2 separate regions of the Homo sapiens genome follow, and region 1 is linked to region 2. Evidence: promoter capture Hi-C in 16 types of primary human blood cells and fetal thymus (Javierre and others, 2016). All regions are on one chromosome and are shown on one strand. Each heading gives the region's core, a stretch centred on a gene start or on the middle of the fragment in contact. The rest is flanking DNA. Distances are from core to core; before and after follow the strand shown.

Region 1 (3,729 bases), core at 1,222-3,721, 81 kb after region 2:
CTGGGTGACAGAGCATGACTCCGTCTAAAAAAAAAAATTATAACAATAAAAAGCAGAATCTGTGTTTAGCTGGAAAATTTACTTACTAAATGCGGTGCCTTGTGATGCCAGATCTGTGAAGCCATTCAAGTGGAAGTGTTTTATAGTGGGAGCACCCTCCTCTTTTCTGCTGAAGCATTGGCTTTCTGGCATGGCCTCTTCCTGATTCTGTTTCCTGTCATAACAGAGATGTCATTGCTGGGAGAGGTATCCACTCAAAGGTGAAGTCTGCAAAGCTGCTTGAGGTTCTGAATGCTATGGAGGAGGAAGAGTCCAACAACAACAGGGAAGAGATTTTCATTGCACCTCCCGACAATGCTGCGGGGGAATTCACTGATGAGGACTCAGGGGATGAAGACAGCCAGCGAGGTGCTCACCTACCTGGCAGTGTGCTGCATGCTTCAGTCCTGTGTGAGGACTCTGGCACCGGGGAGGATAATGACGACCTGGAGCTGCAGCCAGCCAAGAAGAGGCAGAAAGCAGTTGTGAAACCTCAGCGCATTTGGACCAAAAGAGATATTCGTCCAGACTTTGGCAGTTGGACTGCATCAGATCCTCATATTGAGGATCTGAAAAGCCAAGAGCTGAGTCCCGTGGGCCTTTTTGAGTTGTTTTTTGATGAAGGAACAATTAATTTCATTGTTAATGAAACCAATCGTTATGCTTGGCAGAAAAATGTCAATTTGAGTCTTACGGCTCAGGAATTGAAGTGTGTTTTGGGCATTTTGATTTTAAGTGGGTACATCTCTTATCCAAGGAGAAGGATGTTCTGGGAAACCTCTCCCGATTCACATCATCATCTTGTGGCTGATGCAATTAGAAGGGACAGATTTGAACTAATCTTCTCATACTTACATTTTGCAGATAACAACGAACTTGATGCAAGTGATAGGTTTGCCAAGGTCAGACCTCTCATCATCCGGATGAACTGCAATTTCCAGAAGCATGCACCCTTGGAAGAGTTCTACAGCTTTGGCGAGTCTATGTGTGAGTACTTTGGGCACCGGGGGTCCAAGCAGCTGCACAGGGGGAAGCCTGTGCGACTTGGCTACAAGATTTGGTGTGGGACAACCAGCAGAGGCTACTTGGTGTGGTTTGAGCCCTCACAGGGCACACTGTTTACCAAGCCAGACAGGAGCTTGGATCTAGGAGGCAGTATGGTAATAAAATTTGTGGATGCGCTTCAGGAGCGTGGTTTTCTGCCATATCACATATTTTTTGACAAGGTTTTCACAAGTGTTAAACTGATGTCCATTTTGAGGAAAAAGGGGGTGAAAGCCACAGGAACTGTTCGTGAGTACAGGACTGAGCGATGTCCCCTAAAAGACCCCAAAGAACTGAAAAAAATGAAGAGGGGTTCATTTGATTACAAAGTCGATGAGAGTGAGGAGATCATCGTGTGCCGCTGGCACGATAGCAGCGTGGTCAACATTTGCTCCAATGCTGTGGGCATAGAGCCAGTGAGGCTGACCAGTCGTCACTCTGGAGCAGCTAAAACGCGGACTCAGGTCCACCAGCCATCACTGGTGAAGCTGTATCAGGAGAAGGTGGGTGGCGTTGGTAGGATGGATCAGAATATTGCCAAGTACAAGGTGAAGATCCGAGGCATGAAGTGGTACTCAAGCTTTATTGGCTATGTCATTGATGCTGCCCTCAACAATGCATGGCAGCTGCATAGAATCTGCTGCCAAGATGCCCAGGTGGACCTCCTTGCCTTCCGGAGATACATTGCCTGTGTGTATCTGGAGAGCAATGCTGACACAACATCTCAAGGGAGGCGAAGCAGGCGGTTGGAGACTGAGAGCCGCTTCGATATGATTGGGCACTGGATTATCCATCAGGACAAGAGGACCCGGTGTGCCCTCTGCCACTCACAGACCAACACCCGGTGTGAGAAGTGCCAGAAGGGTGTCCATGCCAAATGCTTCAGGGAGTACCACATCCGGTGACATCATGAGACATGCTTCTTTGGTTTATAATGAGATGTTTACAGTTAAATACAGATGGCAGTTGAGCACTTCTGTTTTGTGTTGGAAAAAAGACCTGAATTTCTAATGACTTGATTTTCTATTTTCTCCCTACCCACAATACAGTTATCTTTTTTATTGTGTTGTGTTATGCCTACATGTGATATAAATTAATATTTATATTCATTTATATTTATATTTTTGAACTTATTTATTTAAAGTTATGGATCACTTTTTATTCAAATAAAAGTTGTGCTTTGGGGTATATTTGAATCCTAGCAAGAATAATCAAAGGAAAACTTGCAAGAACAGTAAGAAGACTTTACCATTGCATGCCATGGTTTATAATCTAAGATAGGCAATAGTGTATAAATATCATGTAAATGTGATGGATTTCTTAATCATATTTATTTCATATTAATCCAAGTTTATCAAACTTTTGAGGGATAATCTGCCTTGTATTTAGTCAGAGGGCTAGAGGTGCAGATTTCATATTTTCTTAATGAAAATATTTTCCTAATACACATATATCAATGTGAGATTCATTTTTGTAAAAAAAATTATTTTTTTAATTTTGTGGGTACATAGTAGGAGTGTATTTTTATGGGTTACATGAGATATTCTGATACAAACATGCAATGTATAAAAATCACATCAGGGTAAATGGGGTATCCATCTTGTCAAACACTTGTCCTTTGTGTTTCAAACAATCCAATTATACTGTTAGTTATTTTAAAATGTGCAATTAAATTATTTTTAACTATATTCACCCTGTTGTGCTAGCAAATACTAGGTCTTACTCATTCTTTCTATTTTTTCATACCCATTAACTATTCCCACTCTCCCCCACCCCCTAACTACCCTTTCCAAGCTCTGGTAACCTTCTTTCCACTCTGTGTGTCCATGAGTTCAATTGTTTTCATTTTTAGCTCCCACAAATAAGTGAGAACATCTGAAGTTTGTCTGTCTTTGCTTGGCTTATTTCACTTAACATAATGACCTCCAGTTCCATTCATGTTGTTGCAAATGACTGAATATCATTTTTTTGTGGCTAAATATTAATCACACTTCATTGTGTATATGTACATTTTCTTTATCCATTCTTCTGTTGATGGACACTTAGGTTGCTCCCAAATCATGACTATTGAGAATAGTGCAGAAAATAAACATGAGTTCAGATCTTTCTTCAATATACTGATTTTTTTTTCTTTTGGATGTATACTTAGGAATGGGATTCCTGAATCATATGGTAGCTCTATTTTTAGTTTTTGAGGAAGCTTCAAACTGTTCTCCATAGAGGTTGTACTAATTTACATTCCCACCAGCAGTGTTCAAGGGTTCCCTTTTCTCCACATCCTTGCCAGCATTTGTTATTGTCTGTCTTTTGGATTACAGCCATTTCTGCCCGGATGAGATATCTCAATGTAGTTTTCACTTGCATTTTTCTGTTGATCAGTGATGTTGAGCACTTTTTTTATACCTGTTTGCCATTTGTACCTTTTGTTTTTATTTTGAGATGGAGTTGCCTTGTCACCCAGGCTGGAATGCAGTGGTGCGCAATCTCGGCTCACTGCATCCTCTGTCTCCTGGGCTCAAGTGATTCTCCTGCCTCAGCCTCCCAAGTAGCTGGGATTACAGGCACCCACCACCACACCCGGCTAATTTTTCTATTTTTAGTAGAGATGGTGTTTCACCATGTTGGCCAGGCTGGTCTTGAACTCTT
Region 2 (3,731 bases), core at 617-3,116:
ATCTCCAACGTCTAGAATACTACCTGGCATATAGTAGACCTTCCATAAACATTTTGAGTATTTACAGAACCACATTAAGAGTTGTCATTTATTGATGTAGATGTGTAGAGAAATAAAACCATTTGGATGTGATATTTTTAATTGACAAATATACACATAACTTCATCCTTGAACTTTCTTTCACTACCCTCCATCTTCCTGTTACAATTATCATCCCCCACTGTGATGACTTCCATAACATAGGAAACCTAAATCCAGCTTCCTGTTCTTTCCCCCCATTGTTTGAGTTTTTCCCTCCAAAGCTACACAGAAGAAAGTCATCTAATCCAGTCCTCTTTCACATGAAAGTTTGTTAGAATTTGTGTACAGTCATTATGTGCACAAAAAATGTTTCTCTTTCTAGGTTAAATATCCCCAGCCCCTTTAATTATGTGACCACCCTAGTCACCATCCTCTTCATGTCTCTGGGATTAGCCAAGTGTGTCAGTGTCCTTAAAAACATGACATCAGTACTGAGCAATGAGTCCAGAAATGTCTAAATTAGTACATTTCTCTGGCTTAAAGACTCTGGAAATATCCTCAACTAATCATTCTCTATATAATACTACCTTATCTGTGTATGATTCTTTACAATAAAAATATATATACTTCAAGCGCATTTTCCATGTCTCTCTCAATGTTATCCCTTCCTGGTTCAGGCCCTGATCACTCCAGACCTGCATCCTGTGTCTTGCTTTTCAGCTTTCTTGCCTGCTGCTACCAGATTTGTCTTCCTTAATCCGTGTTGTCATATGCGGGTCAGCAAACACTCATTGATCATCTGTGGCGTGCTGGCCCTCTGCTCATGCTTCAAGGGATCAATTGTTCATGAGTAGGACAAGGCCTGTCCCTTAAGCTATGGGGGAACAGTATTCATCTGACTATAACAACAGTATCAACATGCGGGAGGTTGCGCTGCAGCATAGATATGTCCCCAGGACTGAGGACAGAGAGGGGCATTCTAGCATAGGTTTATGGAGATGGCATTTGACTAAGGTTTTACAAATTAAAACAGAGAAGAGGGTAAGAGTTTTCCAGGCCAAGCATGGCAGGTCGAAGTACACTAATTAGGGGACCCCCTGAGCAGAGCTCAGAAGAGTGGTACTAAGTGACCTCCAAAGGAAGATTACAGCAGTAAAGGACCTTGAGGGCCATCCCTGGGCGTCTGTTCTGATGATATAGGCACACTAAAGGATGGCCAGGTTCCCAAAATGCATTTCCGGAAAGGAATACTAGTAGCATTTCCTAGTAGAAGACATTAGGGTCAACATTTGGACAGGCAGTTCAACCAGGAAGCTCATGGAGAGGCAGCTGGCAAGCCGACCAGGAGTAACCCCTATCCCTGGCATTGCGACTTTGGGCGTATCATTAACTTGTGGGGTCCTTACCTAAAATACAGGATAAATGCTCATATTTCCCCTGGCAGGGTTGTGGTGAGGGTTGAGAGATAATAGCTATCCAGTCTGGCCTCACTTAATAAGAAGGCGCTAACTTAACTACGGGGATGGCTGCCGCGGCCCCGTCCGCGCCGGGCACCGGCTACCGCGCCGGAAGCACCGAAGGGTACACCTGTCTGTGTCCCGCCAGCGGCCGCGGGAAGAGCTGCTGGAAGACTAGACGGTGGACCGCCTAGCTCCCGGGACTCCGCGGCTGGGGGCTGAGGCGCGCGCAGGGATCGGCGCCCTTTCCTCTGATTGGGCGGGACGAGGCCCAGGGGTGGGCCAACAGACAAAGCGGGAGGCAGGAATTGGTTAAGCCAGAAGAGAGGGCGGGGCCTTGGCCCGCGCGGGAGGCGGGAGTGGAGTCCCCCCGCAGGCTTTCTCTTTTAGCCCCGCCTGCTTCCCGGCTCCAGCTGGGGCCGGAGAGGCTGAGTGGTTGGTACGCTGCTCGCTGGCCTCCCAGTCTTCCCAGCAACCGGTGACACTGCCCGCGCCAGACTGACCACTAGCCGACGCGGGCGAGAGGGACAGGAGCGTGACCTCCCCATCCCGAGGGGCCGGACGCTCGGGCGCCTCCCCGCTCCCCCCACTCGGAGGCCGCGCGCGCCGTTAGCCCCTTCCTCGCTCCCCCGCCCCAGTCCCGCAGTCCGGGAGGCGGGGGTCGGCAGCCGGCTGAGTGGGAACCGCGCGGTGTCTGAGGAGGCAGTCGGCGACCGGTGAGGGGACTGAAGGGCAGGGGAGGGCAAGGGTGGCTCGGGGCAGCAGTCCTCAGCTGTGGCTAGTCTTCTCCCATCTGCCTCGGGCGACTGGTGTCTGCGGCGGTCGGGAGCGCCGCCCGGGCTGCGAGTGACGCGGGGATACTGCGGGGCGAGCGATTGGCCGGACACGTCCGCGCGGCCTGCTCCTCCCAGGCCTTCCCCTCCGCCTGTCCTCGCTGGTCCGCCTCGGGTGACCTTTTCGGGGCTGGCGTCACCACGACAAACGTCGCCAGGCTGAGCCGACTTAAGGGGGCAACGGCCGCCACCGGGTTCTGGCAGCGTTAAACGTTCCCCACTACGTTTTTGGTGCCCGGTCTCGCCCTCCAAGTCGGCTGGCGCCACGGGCAAGGGGCTAGGGTAGGCTCGGGGTTGGGAAGGGGCTCGCTCAAAGAAAGTTTGCCCAGCAACTTGTGACGCGCGCCGACTGAGGCGCCCCAGGATTGGCTGCGCTGCTGTGGGCCACGGAAAGCGACCTGTTCAGGTGCCGTGTTCCGCATTCGGCGAATAGTTGTGCTTCGCTCTTAAGTACCAGGCACCAAGTCCCCAGATGAGTAGCCAGCTTCCCTTCTTTCATCTTGGAGCCCACAGTTCGCGCAAGTGGAGCTATGGAAGGCCCATGCTGTGCTGTTCTAATCATGTGAGGGATTCTTAGGGGTTGAGGGGGAAGGACTGAAAACGGCTGCAGACCGTTTAGGATGCCTGGAGTGGAGACAGGAGTTAAGCCCCTTACTCAGAGTCGCTCTTAAGAACTGCCCAGGGCCGGGCACAGTGGCTCATGCCTGTTATCCTAGCACTTTGGGAGGCCAAAGTGGGAGGCTCTCTTGAGCTCGGGAGTTCAAGACCAGCCTGGGCAACATGGTGAGAACCCTCGTCTCTACAAAAAAAATAATGATAATAATAATTAGCCGGGTGTGGTAGCACCTGCTCATAGTCCCAGCTCCGCAGGAGGCTGAGGCTGGAGGGTTGCTTGAGTCCAGGAGGGCGAGGCTGCAGTGAGACAGTGATCAAATCACTGCATTCCAAGCTGGGTGACAGCAAGACCCTGTCTCAAAAAACAAACAAACAACAACAACAAGAAGGACTGTCCTAGGCAGAGTAAATCCTAAGCACCGGGCAACCGCAATTCTCAGTGTTAGCAATTTTTTTTTTTTTTTTTTTTTTTTGAGACGGAGTCTTGCTCTGTCGTCCAGGCTGGAGTACAGTGGCGCGATCTCGGCTCGCTGCAACCTCCGCCTCCTGGCCTCAAGTGATCCTCCCACCTCACCCTTCCCAGTAGCTGAGACTACAGACGGGCGCCACCACACCTGGCTGATTTTTGTATTTTTCGTAGAGACAGGGTTTCACTGTGTTGGCCAGGCTGGTCTCGAGCTCCTGACCTCAAGTGATCCGCCCGCCTTGGCCTCCCAAAGTGCTGGGATTACAGACGTGAGCCACCATGCCCGGCAAGATTTAGCAATATTTTGACCTTTCCATATGAAACACTATAATAATAGCT

What was found. Contacts are between HindIII fragments. The CHiCAGO score rates a contact against its expected background, and 5 or more counts as called.
Region 1: a fragment that was not itself captured here is called in contact with the fragment with the promoter of ZNF672 in region 2 in 4 of 17 cell types (total CD4 T cells, erythroblasts, naive CD4 T cells and 1 more); the score reaches 7.2 in total CD4 T cells.

The regions. Positions count from the first base shown.
Region 1 is chr1:248,916,376-248,920,104 of GRCh38, forward strand. It overlaps PGBD2 (piggyBac transposable element derived 2), which reads left to right. Exons shown (of 3, transcript NM_170725.3): 3 at 227-2,771. The coding sequence ends at 1,988. Among named protein-coding and RNA genes, the nearest start is that of PGBD2, 12 kb to the left of the region's middle. The HindIII fragment of the contact is 1,620 bases long and covers 1,662-3,281 here.
Region 2 is chr1:248,836,358-248,840,088 of GRCh38, forward strand. ZNF672 (zinc finger protein 672) reads left to right here and starts at 1,867. Exons shown (of 4, transcript NM_024836.3): 1 at 1,867-2,194. RefSeq lists enhancers at 1,801-2,302, 2,303-2,802, 2,500-2,769, 3,110-3,189 and a silencer at 1,810-2,209. The HindIII fragment of the contact is 11,934 bases long and covers 1-3,731 here.